Regions from separate parts of the Homo sapiens genome. Here region 1 is linked to region 2. The links are contacts of gene promoters, found by promoter capture Hi-C in blood cells and fetal thymus (Javierre and others, 2016). All regions are on one chromosome and are shown on one strand. The core of a region is centred on a gene start or on the middle of the fragment in contact, and the rest is flanking DNA. Distances in the headings are between cores, read along the strand shown. Region 1 overlaps LOC105376306 (a long non-coding RNA gene). Region 2 holds the start of MED22 (mediator complex subunit 22).

The links. Contacts are between HindIII fragments. The CHiCAGO score rates a contact against its expected background, and 5 or more counts as called.
Region 1: a contact is called between a fragment that was not itself captured here and the fragment with the promoter of MED22 in region 2, in 1 of 17 cell types (naive CD8 T cells). The highest score is 5.4, in naive CD8 T cells.

What each region holds. Positions count from the first base shown.
Region 1 is chr9:133,025,026-133,029,497 of GRCh38, reverse strand. LOC105376306 (a long non-coding RNA gene) reads left to right here. Exons shown (of 2, transcript NR_135119.1): 2 at 1,067-1,346. Among named protein-coding and RNA genes, the nearest start is that of GTF3C5, 3.7 kb to the left of the region's middle. The HindIII fragment of the contact is 1,244 bases long and covers 982-2,225 here.
Region 2 is chr9:133,345,433-133,349,828 of GRCh38, reverse strand. It overlaps MED22 (mediator complex subunit 22), which reads left to right and starts at 1,698. Exons shown (of 5, transcript NM_133640.5): 1 at 1,698-1,907; 2 at 3,129-3,289. The coding sequence starts at 3,167. It overlaps RPL7A (ribosomal protein L7a), which reads right to left and starts at 1,611. Exons shown (of 8, transcript NM_000972.3): 1 at 1,583-1,611; 2 at 787-907; 3 at 129-278. The coding sequence starts at 1,585. It overlaps SNORD24 (small nucleolar RNA, C/D box 24), which reads right to left and starts at 433; the gene lies at 359-433. RefSeq lists enhancers at 1,190-1,659, 1,521-1,815, 3,120-3,621, 3,622-4,125. The HindIII fragment of the contact is 16,795 bases long and covers 1-4,396 here.

The DNA.
Region 1 (4,472 bases), core at 354-2,853, 320 kb after region 2:
TCACGCCTGTAATCCCAGCACTTTGGGAGGCTGAGGCGGGAGGATCAGTTGAGCCCAGCAGTTGGAGGCCAGCCTGGGCAACAGGGGAAGACCCCATTTCTACCAAAAAATACAAAATTAGCCGGCCATGGTGGTGCATGCCACAGTAGTCCCAACTACTCAAAAGGCTGAGGCAGGAGGATCCTTTGAGCCCTGGAGTTGGAGGCTGCAGTGAGCTATGATCATGCCACTTGCATTACAGCTAGAAATTAGTAAGAGCAAGTGACCCCTTGGGTATGGGTACCCCGTTTCTGAAGTGATTTTTTTTTTTGAAAGACACGATCTCCCTCTGTCACCCAGGCTGGAGTGTAGTGGTGTGATCATGGCTCACTGCAGCCCCGAACTCCTGGGCTCAAGTGATCCTCCTGCCTCAGCCTCCTGAGTAGTTGGGACTACAGGCGTGCACCACCATACCCGACTAATTTTGTATTTGTGTGTGTGTGGCGACGGGGTCTCACTATGTTGCCTAAAGTCATTTCTTTTTGTTGTTTGTTTGTTTTGAGACAGAGCCTCACTCTGTCACCAGGCTGGAATGCAGTAGCACAATCTCGGCTCACTGCAACCTCCGACTCCCTGGTATAAGCGATTCTCCTGCCTCAAACTCCCGGGTAGCTGGGATTATAGGCATGCGCCACCACGCCCAGCTAATTTTTGTATTTTTAGTAGAGATGGGGTTTCACCATGTTGGCCAGGATGGTCTCGATCTCCTGACATCATGATCTGCCCACCTCGGCCTCCCAAAATGCTGAGATTACAGGCGTGAGCCACCGTGCCCAGCCTGTGATTTCTTAATCAGAAGAGTACCTGATTGCTCTCCTTGGGTTTAAGAAGGCAGAATAAATAGCTACATGAATTCAGCCCACTGAATACATTCTAAAGTGTAACCTCAATGTGAAATATATTGTATTGTAATTGGAAGGCTGGGTCAGGAGCCCCAAAGCTTTGAAAGAACACCTCCTGAGAGTACAGTGGGAAATCAACCACCAGCAGATGATGGTTGAGCTAGAAGAACCACGTGTTTCCACAGGGAGCTGCACACGAGGACCCGGTGGTCCCTGACCTGCCCTCTCCAGGGGGGACCTGCACTTTCTGCCACCAAAGAGGATTCTCTGTAGGGAGGCCAGGATGATTCTCCAGAATTTACCATGCCTTGAGATGAAATTTCCTTTCAAACTTCCTTGTGTCCTTTTGTCCTCATTCCATGTTCACCAGTCTTCTGACTGTTTCATTTTCCAGAAAGGAGAAACTGAATAACATGTATATTTTAACCTTGCCTGCAATTGTAAATCAATAAATTGGTGTATTTACATCAGATCCCTGTGAGTTTGGTGCACATAAGACAGTCATGAAGACTTGGTCACTGTTGGTAGAGTTGGCCAATAAAATATTGAACACAGTTAAATTTGAATTCATGCAATATTTGGGGCATATTTATACTAAATATGTGTTATCTGAGATTCATATTTAGCTAGGTGATTTTTTAATTTGCTAAATATGGCACTCCCACCTCCGGGTATTGAGATTGAGTTTCTGAATTTGGAAAGCTGATTCCAAACCACCTGGAACCTTAGTGAGCCCACCATGCAATCCAGTGACCCTCTAGTTTGTCTGCTGTATTTTTCCTCCTTACTGAAGCAAGAGTGATCTTTCCAGAATGAGATCGCAGTCTGTCCCTGCCTCCAGTGACTCCCCAGCATCCCTGGCCCACCACCTGGCTAACTACTCCTCTCCTTTAGGTTGTTGCCTTAGACTTCAATTTGCCTGGTAAATCCTCCCTGACCCCAAAACACTAGTTTGGTGCCATCCTCGCTGCCCGGGGCCCCAAACCCACTGCATCATGGAGCCGGAAGCACTATTATTTTTTTTCTTTTTTACTTCTCCACTTGAGTGGCAACTTTCTGAAGACAGGGACCATGTCTGTCTTATTCACCACTGTCTTCCCACTGTCACCACTGCTTTGCATGGGGCTGAGCACCGAGCAGGTGCTCAGGAAGTATTTATTGAACAACTGAATGAGGCCACTTGTCTTATTTGAGCCTTCAATCGAGCCCCGGGTCAGGGCATGGTCATAGGGACACTAAATCAAGGCTTGTCAGACAAGGAGTGTCCCTTAGTGCACAGGAAGTGAGGAGGGGCTGAGTGTGAGGGGAAGACAAGGGACCAACCCCAGGGCATCAGACCAAGCTTTTTGAGATTAGACTTGGTCCTGCCTGAGATCCAAAGCGGGAGGTCAGAGGCAGGAGCAGTAAGGCAAGGCTGGGAGCAGAGACAGGCCAAGAAAGATCAGGAACCCAGTTAAAAAGTAGCTTTGGCTGGGAGCGGTGGCTCATGCCTGTAATCCCAGCACTTTGGGAGGCTAAGGCGGGTGGATCACTTGAGGTCAGGAGTTCGAGACCAGCCTGGCCAACATAGTGAAACCCCATCTCTACTAAAAATACAAAAATTAGCCACATGTGGTAGCACATGCCTGTAATCTCAGCTACTCGGGAGGCTGAGGCAGGAGTCTCGCTTGATCCCAGGAGGCAGAGGTTGCAGTGTGCAGAGATCATGCCACTGCACTCCAGCCTGAGTGACAGAGTGAGACTCCATCTCAAAAAAAAAAAAAAAAAAAAAAAAAGAAGTAGCTTTAACGTTCTCCAAAACCTTGCAGCATTCAGAGCAGGCAGCTGTGACAATATTTGTGCACTGAGGGGACACTTTCTCTGCCTGGATTCAGGGCATATGCTATGGTTTGAAAATGTCCCCCAAATTTCATGTGTTGGAAACTTAATTTGTCTGCCCTCATGAATAAATTAATGTTGGCTCTGCCCTCATGCATGGATTAATGTCGCTGTTGTGGGAGTGAGTTGCTTATCTCTTTGTTATAGAGGCAAGCTCTCTCCGGCTCTCTCTCTCCTGCCCTCTTGCATATGTGCCCTCCACCATGTTATGGCACAGCAAGAATGCAAAGACCCTTAGCAGATGCTGCCACCGTGTCCTTGAACTTCTCAGCTTCCAGAACTACAAGAAACAAATGTTTTTCCTGTAGGAATTACCCAGTCTGGGATATTCTGTTATAACAGCAGAAAACAGACTAACGCAGCATGCTTCTCGCATCTTGCCCTGCTGTGGGGTGGCAGATTTCATCCCACTGGACAGAAGGGCACTACAGCTCTAGCCACCTCCTATGGGCGGATTGGGCACACTGGGGGTGGGGGGCAGCCTCTATGTGCCACTTCCACACGGGAGAGATTCGGAGCTCCTGAAGGACGCTTGGGTGCTGCAACCAGCGTTTGTTGCTCAGGGAAAGGGTGGATGTAGGGACCAGCCCTACAGGGTCTGTGGGTTTTTCTCCCCTTGTGCGGAGACGAGAGATCGTAGAAATAAAGACACAAGACAGAGAGATAAAAGAAAAGACAGCTGGGCCTGGGGGACCACTACCACTGAGACGTGGAGACTGGTAGTGGCCCCGAATGCCAGCCTGTGCTGTTATTTATTGGATACAAGACAAGCGGGCAGGGTAAGGAGTGTGAGCCACCTCCAATGATAGGTAAGGTAACGTGGGTCACGTGTCCACTGGACAGGGGGCCCTTCCCTATTTGGCAGCCAAGGTGGAGAGAAAGAGAGGGAGGAGACAGCTTACACCATTATTTCTGCATATCAGAGACTTTTAGTGCTTTCACTAATTTTGCTACTGCTATCTAGAAGGCAGAGCCAGGTGTACAGGATGGAACATGAAAGCGGACCAGGAGCATGACCGCTGAAGCACAGCATCACAGGGAGACGGTTAGGCCTCCGGATAACTGTGGGCGGGTCAGGCCCTCAACAAGAGGTGGTGGAGTAGAGTCTTCTCTAAACTCCCCCAGGGAAAGGGAGACTCCCTTTCCCGGTCTGCTAAGTAGCCGGTGCTTTTCCTTGGCACTGATGCTACTGCTAGAACACGGTCCGCTTGGCTACGGGCGTCTTCCCAGACGCTGGCATTACCGCTAGACCAAGGAGCCCTCTGGTGGCCCTGTCTGGGTGTGACAGAGGGCTCATGCTCTTGTCTTCTGGTCACTTCTCACCATGTCCCTTCAGCTCCTATCTCTGTATGGCCTGGCTTTTCCTAGGTTATGATTGTAGAGCGAGGATTATTATAATAGTTGAATAAAGAGTAATTACTACAAACTGATGATTAGTGGTACTTACATATATCTATGATCTATATGTAGTATAACTCTTGTTATTTTATATATTTTATTATACTGGAACAGCTTGTGCCCTCGGTCTCTTGCCTTGGCACCTGGGTGGCTTGCTGCCCACAGGTGGGGACCCCTGGCACAAGACACAGAAGGGTGCATCTTCCACCACCACCCCTTGGAGCTGAGCTCCTCTTTCCAGACTCAGGGACCCTCCTGCTGAAGGGACCGAGGAGCTGGCCCCCTCGGGGATGGTTTGGGTTTTAGGAGGAATCT
Region 2 (4,396 bases), core at 449-2,948:
GGTCCTGCTATATGACTATAATTTAATGACAACTGCAGTTCAAGAAGCCTAAGACCATCCCCCTCATGTTCTGGATGAAATAAGGAATCCTTGCCTGAGAAACTCCTTTCCACGCCACAGAACCTCACCTGTTTGGCGGTCCAGGGCCTGGGTGAACTGGTTAATCGCAGGAGGCACTTTCAGCCGCTTATAGAGGATGGCTCTCTGCCGCTGCAACCTGATATAGCGGGGCCATTTCACAAAGCGGGTGAGGTCTCTTTTGGGCTGGATGTCCTGTCCTGAGAAGTAAAGGGTGACACCGAGTGAGGCTCAAATTCCATGTCAAGTTCATGTCTGGGGCCACTAGGAAGGGTGTTGGTGCATCAGCGATCTTGGTGGTTTAAAATGTCATCACCATCTCTCAGATAGCAAATATTCTTTTACATCATCTGCACACAAACACCTGAGAACAAAGAGCACGATGCTTTTCCTCATCTAACAAGAAGCCAAGGTGCCACGAAGTACAGCAGAATTGCAGTCCTAGTACCTCGCTGCGACACTGCTACTGTACTTGTTTCCAGATGGCTAAGCTGAATTCAAGGCCACTACCATATTGAGCTGAATGCTCGCTCAGCAACTCCCAATGAAAGCAAGAAGCATGTATCATTGCCCCCGTCTCTAAGAGACACAAATTAAGGACTGCGACCACTTTACACCCACTAAAACCTACAAGATACAACACAACCCAATTACCACCTTCCCTTGAGAAAAACATAGACCGTTTTCATTCTGCCGTTTGTTACTTACCAATGCCAAAATTCTTAGGCCTTTTCTCAAACAGGGGATTCACCACTTTCTTAGCCTCCTGCTTCTTCACGACAGCTGGGGCCGGAGCCACCTTCTTTCCCTTGGCCTTCTTTCCTTTCGGCTGGGCAGAAAGAAAACGTCAGTTAAACCGCCGCCTCCACTCGCTTCGTCGGGGGTAGGGCTCAGGCTGGCTCCTCCAAAACAAGGGACGCTGACAGCACCTGCCTGAACTAAGCTGGCGAGCAGCTTTCTGCAACCCCCCAGCACCACCCCTCGACAGGAGCATCTCACATTCAGCCGCACAAGCATGCAGCCCCGGGAACCCCGAGTGGCCAGAGCAAGGCTAAGCCCGAGACCACGCTCTCTTCGCGTCGCCCACCCAGGAGACACCCCGGACTCATGACTCCTCTGAGTCGCGGCCCCACAGGCTCTAGAAGCAACAGGGGCGGGCTCAGAACTCGTCGCTCACAAGGCCTCTGGAGCGGCCCCCAGCAAGCCCGAGAGACGCTAGGGCTCCGAGCCCCGCACTGCGGTGCTCCAGGCCTGCGACACCCAGCCCTGCGACACCGGGAACAACGCATTCCGCTCTCGGCCGCCCGGGGCTCTAGTCCATCTCAATGTCTCCGTGCCACACCAAGTGGGGCTCTAATCCACCTCGGTGTCTCCGTGCCACACCGAGTGGGGCTCTCCTAGCGCCAGGAGGAGCAGGAGGCCCTCCGAGGCCGCGCCTGGAGGAGGATGGCAGCGGATACAGCCGGAACCTGGCTATAGTGCCACGGAACTACAGCTCACTCACCATCTTGGGCGGCGGGAGGAGAGAGAAAGGAAAGGGAATTGTGGGTAATATGTATGCGGCCTCGGAGATCGCGAGAGTTGATACCGGCACGGGATTTCGGATTTAAAGCAACAGCATTCCTATAAAGCTAAAAATCGAGGCGGGGCCGAGAGGCTGCGGCGGCTGACTAGGTTTTCGGACCGCGGCGCGGCGGGGAAGAGAGACTGCGGCGGGAGGGCCAGGCCGTGGGAGAGACGCGGGAAAGTGCGGGTCGCAGAGGCACTTGACCACCCCGCCCTAGGCCGACCCGGCGGACGCGGCGTCTGGTGTGCGGGCGCTGGGGCGGGTATGAGGGTGTGGTGGGGGGTGGGGATGGAGGGGGGGTGGGTGTGTGGGCGGGAGTGGGGGTGGGTGGGTGCGTAGGCGCTGGGGTCGGAGATCCCCTTTCCTGCGTGTGACTTATTTCCCACACCCCGCCAAAAATGGGCACAAACAATGCGAGTGCGTCCAGGAGTCCGCTCGGTCGTGCGCCAGACTCCGAACCTAGGGGGCCCCGGGCCCTCCCTGAGCACCGCGCGCAAAGGCCCGGCCCCAGGGCCAGGCAACTCCAGCGCCGAGGCCGTCCAGTGCGGCTGGAGGGCAGAGGCCGAGAGGCGCGGCGCGGAACTTGAGCCCCTTGTCCCGGCGCACCGGGGAACCATGAGGGATGTTAAGCGAGGGAGTGGAATTACCCCCCTTTTTTTTTTCTTTTGGAGACGTAGTCTCCCCCTGTCGCCCAGGCTGGAGTGCAGTGGCGCGATCTCGGCTCACTGCGACCTGTGCTTCCCGGGTTCAAGCGATTCTCCTGCCTCAGCCTCCCGAGTAGCTGGGATTACAGGCGCCTGCCATCACGCCCGGCTAATTTTTGTATTTTTAGTAGAGTTGGGGTTTCACCATGTTGGTCAGGCTAGTCTCAAACTCCTGACCTCAGGTGATCCCTGCCTCGGCCTCCCAAAGTGCTGGGATTACAGGCGTGAGCCACCGCGCCCGGTTGGAATGACCACTTTTTAGGACCTCTTCCCTGCCGCGCAGAGACTGGAGGGAGCGGGGCCCGCAGTGCAGGGATGAGGTCTGGAGCGGGGCAGCCTGAGTGGGAGTGGAAGGAAAGCGTGGATGTAGGCGGTGCAGAGGGGTCGAATTGGAAGGACTCTTCGGATGGGAGGGCGTGGCGAAGGTGGCGGCGGGCTAAGAAGTTAAGCCAAGGGCTGGGGACGGGGAGCTGGTGTTGAGTTTGCAGGGCTCCCTGGGACACGCTGTGGGCCTGGACGTGAAGTCTGGACTGGAGCCCTGGACAGGGCTTGGAGGGCTGGCCAGGAGTTCCAGGATGAGCTTGCTCTGGCAAAGGCGGGGCCAGTCCTGGCACCCCCTGCGGTGTCTGCTGATGGAATGAGTTCATCTGTGTTTCAGTGATTGACTTTATTTGGCAGAAAGGGAATCCCCAGAAATCTGCGTGTTCTGCTAAGGTTGGGGCATAGAGGGTGGCTGGGGTAGACTCTGCCTGCACTCAGAGGTCTGTGCTGCACTCTAGGTCCCAGGTCTCCCCGCTGCGCTGCTTGAGGCTCGGCCATGGCCCAGCAGAGAGCCCTGCCCCAGAGCAAGGAGACGCTGCTGCAGTCCTACAACAAGCGGCTGAAGGACGACATTAAGTCCATCATGGACAACTTCACCGAGATCATCAAGACCGCCAAGGTGGGGGTGGGGTGGCCCACCAAGGGGAGCAGAGTCTGAGAAGGGGTGGAGACAGGAGAGGCCAGGGGCTGAGCAGCGCGAGTGAATAGTGTTCTAGGCAGGAAGCACCCAGTGCACAGGGAGCTGGTCAGTAGATAAGCAAACCAAATAATGGCACGTCCAGCCCTTACTAACAGTATGGATTTGGATGGAGATTTCACTTTTTAGTGCCTCAGTTTCTCCTGCATGGTGGGGTCCTTGTGATGACTGGTGAGTTTATCTGTGTAAAACAGTTACCTCGGGGCCTGGCACACAGCCAATGAGCAGGAGAAAAGCAGACTGAGGGGAGAAGTGGGGGGGGGCCTCCAGGCAGGTGGAGCGGTCAGCACTGGGGCCTGCAAGCCTGCTGACCACTGCAGCTACAGCTGCATCAGATTGGGCTGGATCCCTCCTGGCTGCTGCAGACCTGGCAGGCTCCATAAGCGATGATGATGAGGATGGAAGCTAGCATGTACTTAGTGCTTGCCATGTATCAAGCCACGTTGTGAGGTTATCTGTGCCTGTTCTGCTGAATCTTCATGAGGACTCTGTGAGGTGGGCACTGTTGTCCTCTTCATTTCAGGAGGAAACCCAGGCCCAGGAGACTTAGTGACTTGCCCAAGGTCACTCAGCTCACAACTGGCTGAGCCAGGATTTGAACCCACGAAGTCTGGGTCTTAACCACTGAGGGTACCTGACACCCACCCCGAACTGAGCCTTTGCAAGGCCTGCCGGGAAGCCCCATCCAGCCTCGCTTGGCCACCTATACACCAGGGGTGGCAGGCCAGGCTTCTGTGAAACTGGCATGGGTTAATGGTGGTCAAGTGCATGACACAGCCTGGCACCTGGGAAGTGATCAGGAAATGGTCGCGAAAAAAAACTTAAATCATCCCTTCACTCATCCAACAGTTTACCAAATGCCAAGCAAGTGACAACGGTTCCTACCAAACAGGGCTCCCACAGCCCAAAAAGACCGGGCCAAGATAAGCCCCCATCCCTGCACCTAGTACAGCAAGCAGCGTGGGTTGCCTCTATTTGTCTTGAGCAAAGGTGCATGTTGTCTCCCATGGCCAGAACAAGAGAGGGTGG